Regions from separate parts of the Homo sapiens genome. Here regions 1 and 2 are each linked to region 3. The links are contacts of gene promoters, found by promoter capture Hi-C in blood cells and fetal thymus (Javierre and others, 2016). All regions are on one chromosome and are shown on one strand. The core of a region is centred on a gene start or on the middle of the fragment in contact, and the rest is flanking DNA. Distances in the headings are between cores, read along the strand shown. Region 1 has its middle 25 kb from the start of MMP7. Region 2 has its middle 17 kb from the start of MMP12. Region 3 holds the start of MMP8 (matrix metallopeptidase 8).

Region 1 (3,936 bases), core at 1,010-3,509, 170 kb after region 3:
CATTGAAAAATTTTAAAATTTATCCTAATTTAGCATCTTTTAAAATGTAGATTATTTAAATAAGATGGTTGGGGCATCATTATTTTTATTGTTTTCCTAAGTTGGGCTTATTGAGGTACATATGGTAAATTTCACCCATTTTAAGTGTACAGTTATGAGTTTAGGAGGTCAGGTAACCAACACCACTATCAAGATGTAGAATGTTTCCATCACCCAGAAAAGTTCCTTTGTGCCCGTTTGTAGTCAATTCCCTCAGCTTTCTCTAGTCCGTGGTAACTACTGATCTGTTTTCTGTTCGTATATTTTCTCTTTTCCAGAATGTCACGTAAGTAGAATCAGTTCTCATCAATGCCAATTTTTGCATTTGTGCTTTAGCTTTGGTTAGTCTATTCATTCTGCAAACATAAACATATCAGAAATATGCATATGCATTACACAAATAGGCAGAAAACTAGAGGCAGCATTTTGGTTGTTGGGTTTTTGTTCTTGTTTTTGTTTTTGCTTGAGACAAGTCTCATTCTGTCGCTCAGGCTGCAGTGCAGTGGTGCGATCATAGCTCACTGCAACCTCTGCCTCCTTGGCTCAAGTGATGCTCCCACCTTAGTCTCCTGAGTAGCTATTACCACAGGTGCATGCCCCCACATCTGGCTAATTTTTAAATTTTTTTTGTAGAAACAAGAGTCTCACATGTTTCCCAGGCTGGTCTCTTTCTCCTGGGCTCAAGCGATCCTCCTGTGTCGGCCTCCCAAAGTGCTAGGGTTATAGGCATGAGCCACCATGCCCAGACTAGAGGTAGCATTTTGAACTAATTAGTCAGAATGCAAATACAACTCTGTGAAATAGCTGAAGTATTGTCACTAAATTTTTATCAATAAAATATAAAGAGGATCATCCCTAAGAAAAAATCTAATTTAATAGTTGCATATAGCAGGGAATACAATTCAAGTAATACCTGCAATGTTAACTTAGTAAACTAAATCTCGTTAGGAAGATTCCCCTCCATGACACTATTATGGTCACTGTCCTCTGTACATACTGCCACGGCCACAGACACCACGTAAACCTGCCTGATACCCTTACCATCTTAGGCAGCAACCATACAGCCTTCAGGGATGAGCCCCAGGAAGAGGGCTTCCAACATGGAATTTCCCACCCTTGCTTTATTACATGGCTACTGCAGAGCCCAATATGAGAGAAGTCAATCAAGTGGTACCTGAAGGCAGCAAGTACACTACATTTTCTGAACTCTCTTGTCATGAATTTTTCATTGCCTCGGTCTAAGCTAGTCCTTGTACTGGAAAATAGGCTGCCTGGGAGACTTCCCAGAGCACTGACTATGCCCAGAGCACTGACATAATGACATAAAAGAGTGCATTTGTATTGACTGCCTTCCTACAGCAGGCAAAATGGTTGTCGCAAAGTCACATCTTTCCTTTTTCTCAGAGTTGGCAATCTCTGAAAAGTGGTTTGTGAAGCTCGCTCCACCTAGAAGCAGGGTGATATATGGGAAGAATATAAAGTTGATGGTCACTCCTCTATGTTCAAATCCTGTCCGACTTTATAAACTTGCTCAAATTACTCCTTGAGTTTGTTTTCCTGAATGAAAAATGGGGATGCTAAACACAGTAAACCGTTTGCAGAAATGGCCACAGTAATTCTTACCAGCCCTGTACATGTGCCCACTTAAATGTGAATTTGCCACTCCTTTTATATTGAAGTGGAATTTATTTTTTTATTCCTTAAATCTAAACTTCAATTTGGGCTTGAATAGGGCATTATCAAATGTAATGCAAGCAGAGGATTGAAAAATATGTACACATTGGAGCTTGAGTTGTCTTGCTGTTAGAAACCCTGAGACCACCATGTGAAGAATTATCAGCTAGTCTTCCAGAGAATGGGAGGTTATACAGAGAGAAGTCAGCCATTTAAGCCATTTTAGCTGCCTCAAAAGTCCCAGCCTTCCCAAACATCCCAGCCAACCATAGATACCCAAAAGCTAGATAAAATGTTTATTTTAAGCCACTGTGTTTGGAGTGATTTATTACATAGCAAAAGCTGATACAATAAAATAATGATTACTAATGTGCATAAAACGTGTTACATGGTGTTAGTTCAATAAATGACTACACAAATAAATATTAAGTGACTTAGTACAATTTAAGCTTGTTGTAGAAAAGGAAAAATTATCTCTACCACTGAAAATATTTCCTATCACATAATAGCCTCCTAATAATTTTTTGAATACATTGACAGAGACTAGTTGCCATTCTTTCTCACAGCACAGAATTGCTTTAATGTAATGAAGAATATATTTCAAGATCTCTCAAGGGCCTGTAGGGTAAAGAAGGAAAGCTTCACCTTTGCCCTCTGAAGGTTTGCTGAAAATAAACTGACAAAAGGCAGATTAATAGGAGAAAAAGTCATAAAAAATGTATTTAATGTGCATAAGCATGGGAGAATCACAGGAAAATGATTGCCCAATAATCCAATGAGGTCCGGATGCTTATATAGCCTTCTTCATACAGCACGGAGTAAATAACAAAGTTCCTTTGAGCTCGGAGGGAGGTGGTGAGAAGGCAAGGGGCAGAACTTCACAGTGAACAAAGGTAGTCTTATTATCCAGTTAAAGCTTCCCAGTTAATCTCCTGGAGCTGCCCTCAGAAGAATAGATGGAAAGTCTGTTTAGGCATGGTGATGACTCCCAGTATCTCCTCTTCTCTAGTGGTTAATCTTTTCTGGTTATTTCATGTGATTCTTAGGAGGGATATTTTAAGACAATTGCAATTCTCCTTGTAAGAAGCTTTCTTAGTCAGAGAAGAAAATTCCACAGAGTCCCTTCTTTCTTCATGAAGAAAAAGGATCAGAGAGACAGGGAGGAAGGGGAAGGTCAGAGAAAGACCTTGGTTCTGAGGCTTATTTCTAAGCTCCTTCAATTTTCTTTAATTCCAAGCACTCAACATGCCAAAGCACCATATTTTGGGGTATTGCTTTCTGTACCCCAAAAGGCCTCACAACTAAATTTTCAGTATATCTAATATTTTTTACTTAGATTTTCTGTTCTTTAAAGGTACACTGTGGTCTAGATCAATGTGAGTTACTAAATCCATATTGTTGGTAAAGTCTACTATTGCTATTTTATAATAGGATAGAAAAAGATTATAAAGTATCACCAAAGTTCTGAAATGGAAGTCTTAATGGAAAGGACTGCTTCTTTACCCAGGAAGAGGGTAAGTTTTGAAGAGTGTCTCTGTCTCTCAGAAATAAGATCCAAGGGGAAAAAGAAGTTCGGTAAGGTTTCCAGTAACTTCCAGCTATAACACAAAATGGAGGGAGTCAGGATGTTAGATAAGCCAACTGCTTTGTAAGATTTTACTTTGTTAGATTGGGAACATTAGTAGTTTTCCCAAGCTCGTTATCTATGCTATACTTATTTCTAAATAAGAATAAAACCCTTGAAATGAAACAAGCATGTATAATATACATTCTTTTTTGTTTGATTCCTTTTGCTCATCATTATGTCTGAAAGTCTTATTCATACTGCTGCATGTAGGTATAATTTGTTCATTCTCACTGTTGTTTAGAATTTAATTGTATGAATATATTACAATGATTTGTAATATGTTTGTCCATTCTGTTGCTAATGGACATTGGGTTGTTTCCCTGCTTTAACTGTTGCAAACGGTGCAACTATGAATATTCTTGTGAGTATCTATTAGTGAAACTCCATGTGGTAGAGAGCTTCTAAAACAGTTCTTAATGGTTCCTGCCTCTGGCTATTCTTGTCCTGTGTAATCCCCACCCTTGTGTGTGAAGTGGATGTAGTGATTCATAACAAACAGAATATGGCAAACATGATGGAGCGTTGCTCTCTAAGATTAGGTTATTAAAGGCCATGACCTTGGACTTGCTGGGGATCTCTCTCTCTCTTGCTCATTC
Region 2 (3,933 bases), core at 1,125-3,624, 170 kb before region 3:
ATCTTGTGAGACACATTCACTATCAGGAGACCAGTGCAGGAAAGACTCACCCCCATAATTCAATCACCTCCCACCGGGTTCCTCCCATGACACATAGGAATTGTTAGAGTTACAATTCAAGATGAGATTTGGGTGGGGACACAGCTAAACCATATCACACAGTGAGACTCTGTCTCAAAAAAAGAAAAAAAATCAACTCTGCCTTTGGAGAAAGAAAGCAGCCATAGATGATATATAATTGAATGCATATGACTGTGTTTCAATAAAATTTTATTTGTAGATACTGATATTTGAATTTCATATAGTTTTCATGTGTCTCTGTGTATTACTTTTATTTCATTTTTCAACCATTTAAAAATGGAACCTGGGTCAGTGACATGTGCTGTCATCCCAGTACTCAAGAAACTGAGGCATGAAGATCACTTGAGCCCAATAGTTTGAGACCAGCTTAGGCAATATGGTGAGACCTTGTCTTAAAAAAAAAAAAACCAACAACAATAAAATAAAATAAAAGTGGAAGGAAGGGCCATTTTTAGCTTGCAGGCTGGATTTGGTCTGTGGCCCATAACTTGTCAAGCCATGTCCTTCTATGGGGTTTACAGTTCATATAATTCTTTACTAAGTCATTTGCAGTCTAAATTGTTATTTTTTATATCTAGGTCTTGTGTCTTTAATTGGGTTGTGAGTTTTCTGAGGGAAGGCACCTCATACTTGTTTGTAAATGCTCTAAAGACCAAGTTCATTGGTGAAAAGCAAGTGTGATAAATGTTGATTAGAAGAATCAGTTTTGCCCACGATGATCTTGGTCACAGGGAGCTGTAGATGGTTGGAGGAGATTGGTGCTTCTAGTATGTGGAAGATCTAGGCAGAAACAGTGGGAACAGAAGACTCAGGAAAATCCTTGAAAGACAGCCAGAAAATAGAGTTGGATTCAATATTGAACTTTAAGATAGAGAGAAACTAGGAAGTAGATGTCTCTTTTTCATCCAAGCCATGAAATCAAAGTGAAGTCAGGCAGTAAAAACCAAACTCCTGGGCAGCTGCGTTTCTGCAATGCTCTAGTATATCTTTCTGGATCAAAATATTCACAAGGGAATTACTGAGCATTTCTACAACTGGTCCTTTGGCTAAAGTGCATCTTCCTACCTTTGACCTCGTGCTCCAATCGACTTTTCAAAACGCAATTTGGGATTCATCATTTCCAAAAAGCCTTTCCCACTTTCCACTTCATCCCCATCCCAACACGGATACAAACACACACACACACATACTGCCTTGAGCAGGCCTCCTCTAGTGCAGGGATAGTTACTCTCTTTCTGTTTACTGTGCCTCAGACAGTGGCTGGTGCCCTGCAGGTAATCAATGAGTTTTTTTTGTTGGTGTTTTTTTTTTTTTTTTTTTTTTTTGAGGTGGTGTCTCACTCTATTACCCAGGCTGGAGTGCAGTGGCATAATCTCAGCTCACTACAACCTCCACCTCCTGGGCTCAAGTGATTCCCCCACCTCAGCCTCCTGAGTAGCTGGGACTACAGGAACATGCCACCACACTCAGCTTTTTGTAGAGATGGGGTTTCACTATGTTGTTAAGGGTGGTCTCAAACTCCTGGGCTCAAGTGATCCACCAGCCTCGGCCTCCCAAAGTGTTAGGATTACAGGTGTGAACCACCTGGCCCTTTTTTTTAAATGCAGTTTTAAAATAGAACTTCTTCAAATCCAGCCATTCAGAGAAGCACCTAGTTTTTACTATATTTTTATCTTTGTTGCCTAGGAGCAGGGAAAGAGGGAAAAAGGGAAAAAAAACTAAAGGCAGGCTGTAGCGCAAATCCTCTGTAGATCCTTCCTTTAAATGCTAGAGCAGTGGTCCCCAAACTGCCATTGCTGGACTCCACCTCTAGAGTTTCTGATTCAAGAAGTCTGGGAAAGAAACCAACATTTTGCATTCCTAACAAATTCCTAGGAAAGGCTGATGCTGCTGGTCTGGGACCACACTTTGAGAAACAGTGCTCTAGAACCTGAGCTCTACTACTGCCCTATACCATGAAGAAGTTTGGGAAGCTTGTCTTCTGACTTGGTGGCTTCCATTCCTATCATGTACATTTCCTCTCCAACCTCAGATTTCTGATGTTTCCTCTCAGCCCCACATTATCATTGTTCTCTAGCTAGGTTGCTTTCAAACACCAAAAAGAAAAAGCACATGAGAAGGTTTCATATTGAAGTAAAAATAAATGGTAAAGCTTTCTTTTACATCAAAAAATCAACCTTTAAAAGGGAGTACAGGCCAGGCATAGTAACTTGCACCTGTAATCCCAAATCCCTTTGGGAGCCTAAGACTGGAGGATCGCTTGAGCCCAGAAGTTTGAGATCAGCCTGGGCAATATAGTGAGACTCCACTTCTATAAAAAATAAAATGTAAAACTATAATTTTTTTAAAAACAGGGAGTACACTTGTGTAAGCTAATAAAATGGAACTCCAGGAAGAGAGCTTCAGAGTTTATCTAGGTGAAAAAGAAGCTTTGCCCACAGGAAATTACACAATCCAACCCACATCCACCACTTGGGGATACATCCATCTCAGGGCAGGTATTAAGGTATTAAAACCCTGCCTGGATCATAATTTTAAGTCACTATCATTTGAAACAGCACATCTTGAGTTTTGCTTTTTGTAGGTGTGTGGTGATAGCTGGGACCACAGGCAGATATAAAGCAAAGTCACAATTCCTAGGAGCATGAAAAGCAGGGAGATGGGACTGTGGCTGGGAGATGGGACTGTGGCTGGGAGTATCTGAGAGGTGGAGGGAGGTTAAGATCTGGAGAGATCAAGGGGTACAGAGGAAGAAAAATTCTTTGTCAGGAAGAAGTAACTACAGCAGCAAAGTCAGAGGGATAGGAATAGAAGGCTGGCAGTGTTGGTTGCAGGGAACTGTGGGAGAAGAGGCAAGAAAAGGAGGAAGGGGGCAGATGGTAAGGACTTTGACAAGTGAAGAAATTTGACCTTGATAAATTGGGTTCTGACTGTATCTTACACAGTCTCCGCAAGGTGACCAGAATGACGTTTCTAAACGCAAATATGACCATGCCTTGCCTCTACTTAAATTCTTCAGTGGTTCCCAGTGCTGTCAAGACTGAATTGGAACTCCTTAGCAGAATCTGGGCTCCTGCATTCCTCTGCAGTTCCCACTCCAGAAACATCCTTGACCCATATCTCTCTCTCTCTCACACACACACAAACACCTCTGCGCTTCAGTTGTGTCACCCTAATCCTCCTGGGCGTTGCACACTCTCTCACTTCTGTGGGCTTCAACTTCCTCACCCTCTGCCTTCCCTCACACTCTCACCTGATTTAAGATTCTCTTTGATTTATTCTAGGATTCAGAAGAAGGGTGTAGCCGGGTGTGGTGGGGCTCGTCTGTGGTCCCAGCTACTCAAGAGGCTGAGGTGGGAGGATTACATGAGCCCAGAAGGTTGAGGCTGCATGAGCTATGGTCACACCACTGCACTCCAGCCTAGGCAACACAGTGAGCCCTGTCTCCAAAAAGAAAAAAAAAAGAAAAGGGTGTGTTCCCCACCTGTGTCCCTTCTGGGATCCATAACTCTGCATGGTCATTCATGTAAAGCCCCTTGTGCAGCAAACAGAGGATACATCTTTATCAGTTGATTGTCATTATCTGTTTCATTCTCTGTCTCCCCTCTTACACTGTGAGCGCCCTGAAAACAAGAATTGCATCCCTAGCACCTAAAACAATGCCTGACACACAGGCGGGAAATATTTGTGGAATTAACTTTGAAACAATGATATTATTTTTTAAAAAAATGTATTGGAATTTTGAAATAAAAATTAATCTATAAATTCAGAAAATACAGAAAAATACAAAGGAGCAAGTAAAAATCCCTTGTAATTGCTCTGCTCTGAGATAACCCCTTTCAGTTTATTTTG
Region 3 (4,210 bases), core at 271-2,770:
ATCCGGTTCAAATTCCACCTCCCTCATGAAACCTTCCTTGATTTCACTCCCTCCACACCACTGCTGTTTCCTCCAAACACCCACAGCATTTTATCCAAACCTCTATTAATTTATCTCCAATACTCTAGCACCCATCACAGCATGTGGCATGTAGTAGATGACAGGAAATGTTTACTGAATGAATGTAGGAATATACATCATTAACATTAATCTGCTGTCCAGATATGTTCTAACCCAAGACACCTTTCTTTGGATCATTTTCAAAGTTCCTAAGTGACCTCAGGAAAGATCAGAACTCCTTATCATAGCATCTCAAATACACTCTTTACATATTAATACATGCTATGTATCATACATGTAGACACATGCATTTATACACAAGAATACCTGCCTTTACCAAATATGTATGCATATATGTAAATGAGTATTCACAAAGACTGTGTATGATAACAAACTACATGCATGTGGACTCAGAATAAGTGGGACCAGGTTACATGATTTGAAAAGCATGCCCAGGGGCCTCTGACAAACAGTCTCCTATGTAGCCATATTGTCTGGAAATCTCTCAGTGTCTTACTCCTTGAAGATGTACAACATCTCATTCTCCCTCTCCCTTGTCTTCTGCCTGTGAATATAAGCCAAAGTATCCAGCTGTTGAAGGCCTAGAGCTGCTGCTCCACTATGGCCCAGCCAGAGACTCAAGTGGGAGACTACCATGCAGAGCTTATAGTAGCTCCCAGCTCAGTCTCTCTAAACATACCCTCTGGGGTTGAATCCTGGCCCCTCCACAAATGAAACATGTGACTTAAACAGGTCATCTAAATGTCTCTGGATTTGATTTCATCTGTAAAATGGAGATAGTAATAGCATCTCCCTCCCAAGGCTATGTGAAGATGGATTGGGGTAATATGTGGAACACAGTACAAATGTCTGGGCAATCATAATTTTTTAGCAAATGTTCATTATTATCATCATCAGTATTGTTCTCTTTATCTTTTCCATGGAAAGTCTAACTTATAGACTAGGGATTTTCTAATATGTTGATACCAAACCACATCCTCCAGAAGCAGCTCTAGGCCCCATACAAAGCCTGCTTTGTAATAACACAGTCACTCATTCTCTCCACATACAATGAGGGAGGGTAAGTACAGAGATTCTCTAGTTGGGCTCCTTGGTCCCAAGATATCTACCACAAACCTCAAAATATTCCCCTGCATAAGTTAATTCAACCTCAACATCTTACATAGTCAAAAAATGTATCCACATAACTTCAGGATTAGTCCCTTGTTCCTTTTCCTCAACCAATTTTGTAAAAGGAAATAACTAAAACATCCAAAAGCAAAGAGTAGAAAGTTGGAGTTTTGAAAGACTGTTGAAAGACTCCCCCATTTGGGGGTACTAAATCACATTATAAAATTGCAAAACTGTCAGAGTGTAATTAACCTATGTTGCTTCATATTCCTGATGCAGCAATTGTTTAAGACATGGCTTTAAAGAGGACTGCAAGAGAGCTGTGAGTGACACATGATGCTGTGAACGTCAGGGTGCTCGCCAGGGAAGGGCCCTACCCAGAGGGACAGAAAGAAAGCCAGGAGGGGTAGAGTTTGAAGAGAAGATCATGTTCTCCCTGAAGACGCTTCCATTTCTGCTCTTACTCCATGTGCAGATTTCCAAGGCCTTTCCTGTATCTTCTAAAGAGAAAAATACAAAAACTGTTCAGGTAAATGAACTATCAGTTAGGTGATGTTTGATTTGCTGATTATTAGGAAATAGTGTGGGTTGTTTTCTCTTGTTAATTAAAACAGCCTGAAAGAAATTATTTGGGTGATTAGTTTGAGATTGAACATCTCCTTTTAGTGATTTGGAGGGTTCCAAGCTGGTAAGGACTAGGCCTTTTAAAAGCCGGACATGAAAACAAGCTGAATTCTTTAAAGGCTGGGAAAATACTGCTGTAGAGTTACCCCTAGTTGGGAAACTTTTGTAGAAGAAATGGTTTTATTTATAAAATGGTATCATTTTCTTTCTCATTTACCTAAGGTTTTTCCTTCCAGGATATCTGCAATCAAGTTACTATATGTCTGGTGCTTCCATACAGGCATTTTCTTTGCCGCCAAAAATTCCAGATATAGAAAATAATGTGAGGATGGTAGATTACAATGAACTAGAAATCAGTACACAGTAAAATCATATTTCCCAGCATCAGATTGTGGACTGTTTATAAACTCTTGGAAGCATTATAAAAGCAGAACCAATAGTTTTTTTCCATTGTTTCACAGTCTGAAAGTGAACCCAAATTTTTAAGAAACACAAGGGAATTCTGTCACAAATCTCTCATGCACAGTTTTCTTAGCATTATAGTTTGGAGAAAGCATTATTATTATTAAGAGGTTATCTCTTAATTGTAACCCCCGGGTTAATGTAAAGTCCATTGAGTGCTTATTCTATGCAAGGCAACTGCTACACATTTCACAAATATCTCATTTAATCCTCACAAGAACCTTATTGGAGCATTATTATTTTCATTTCAGAGACAAAAATATCTTAAATCAGATAAATAATGTGGCCAAGTGCTCACAGTTAATTCATGGCAGAGTTAAGATTTGAACCCAGGCCTGTCTGATTCCAAAGCGTGTGATCTGGTCAGTGTCACCTACTGCTGTGGTTAGAGTGTGTCCCTTGAATTTATGTGTTAAAGATTTAGTAGCCCATGTGACAGTGGGTCCTTTAAGAAGTACTTAGGTCATTAAGAAAGATTAATGACACTCTTGTGTGACTGGATTAATTTTTGCTGGAGTGGGTTCTGGCTCTTGCAGAACTGGATTAGTAATTAATAGAATGGGTATTATAAAGAGGGGCTGCCCTTTGTGTTTTGCCCCTTTTCACACATGCTTGCTCCCCTTTTGTTTCTCTGCCATGTTATGACACAGCACAAGGCCATCTCAGAAGCCAACCAGATGCAGCCACCTGATCTTGGACTTCCCAGCCTCCAGAATTGTGAGAGAAAATCAGCCCCTTTTATGTATAAGTTACCCAGCTTCAGATATTCTGTTATAGCAACAGAAAATGGACTAAGACACTGACAAGGTGCCAGGTGTTCACAGGCAGCATGAGGTCTAGTTAGGTTACATTTCACTGTGTATGAAGAAACTTTTAAGCCAAACTTAAAATAGGTAATTTTTAGGCTAAACTCTTTGGATTTTGACTAAATTTAACACTTCCAAAGAGTTACTTTGGTGAATAAAATGCTAATATCAATGATATTGCTGTTCCCCTAAAAGATATTTGAAATTATTTTGAAATTATCAGTTCTCATTTGAGAGGCAACATGGTGAGTTAAAATCTGAATCATCACTTGGAAAATTCCTTAATTCTCTGTGCTTCTGTTTGTTCAGCAGAATAAATAAGCCTTTTCTACAGTAGTGAAGAGGATAAAAAAGAGGAACTGCACTGATGCAACAAATACCTCAAGAGAAGTCAATTAATGTTAGTCCTAATTTTTTTGTAAAAACAAGAAGACAGTCTCCTGACTGTAGAGTAGCACTTTGCCTGTGTGATGTGATCCTCATCCCTTATGAGACACCCTTTTTTATGCATAACCATTAACTGGAGCACTGAGTGGAGGAACTGTTCTTTCTAAAAAGAGTTGTTCTCTCAAAGCCAACCTACAAATTAATTTGTGTTATTGTTCCTGTGGCTGTCAAGTTATCAGACCTCTGTAGTAACTTAGAAAGGGTTGCAAAATGACCAGAGAACTGGAGGTCCTTTCACAGCAAGACCCCTATGTGCTTGTCTTTGTCCAGGACTACCTGGAAAAGTTCTACCAATTACCAAGCAACCAGTATCAGTCTACAAGGAAGAATGGCACTAATGTGATCGTTGAAAAGCTTAAAGAAATGCAGCGATTTTTTGGGTTGAATGTGACGGGGAAGCCAAATGAGGAAACTCTGGACATGATGAAAAAGCCTCGCTGTGGAGTGCCTGACAGTGGTGGTTTTATGTTAACCCCAGGAAACCCCAAGTGGGAACGCACTAACTTGACCTACAGGTGATATCTCTAGGGTTTCAGGATACACTCATTTATCCAGTATGGACTGGGCTCTTATATGACAGACACTGTTCTTGGGATACACTAGGAACAAGTAGATAAATATCCCTGCCTTTGAAGAGTGTGAGTAGTGAATGAATATGAGAATGAAAATGTTGAGATACC

What was found. Contacts are between HindIII fragments. The CHiCAGO score rates a contact against its expected background, and 5 or more counts as called.
Region 1: a contact is called between a fragment that was not itself captured here and the fragment with the promoter of MMP8 in region 3, in 1 of 17 cell types (M1 macrophages). The highest score is 5.2, in M1 macrophages.
Region 2: a fragment that was not itself captured here is called in contact with the fragment with the promoter of MMP8 in region 3 in 2 of 17 cell types (M1 macrophages and M0 macrophages); the score reaches 8.0 in M1 macrophages.

What each region holds. Positions count from the first base shown.
Region 1 is chr11:102,554,003-102,557,938 of GRCh38, reverse strand. No RefSeq gene overlaps it. Among named protein-coding and RNA genes, the nearest start is that of MMP7, 25 kb to the right of the region's middle. The HindIII fragment of the contact is 190 bases long and covers 2,165-2,354 here.
Region 2 is chr11:102,889,915-102,893,847 of GRCh38, reverse strand. No RefSeq gene overlaps it. Among named protein-coding and RNA genes, the nearest start is that of MMP12, 17 kb to the right of the region's middle. The HindIII fragment of the contact is 277 bases long and covers 2,236-2,512 here.
Region 3 is chr11:102,722,264-102,726,473 of GRCh38, reverse strand. It overlaps MMP8 (matrix metallopeptidase 8), which reads left to right and starts at 1,520. Exons shown (of 10, transcript NM_002424.3): 1 at 1,520-1,720; 2 at 3,801-4,045. The coding sequence starts at 1,619. RefSeq lists an enhancer at 1,114-2,313. The HindIII fragment of the contact is 5,644 bases long and covers 1-3,886 here.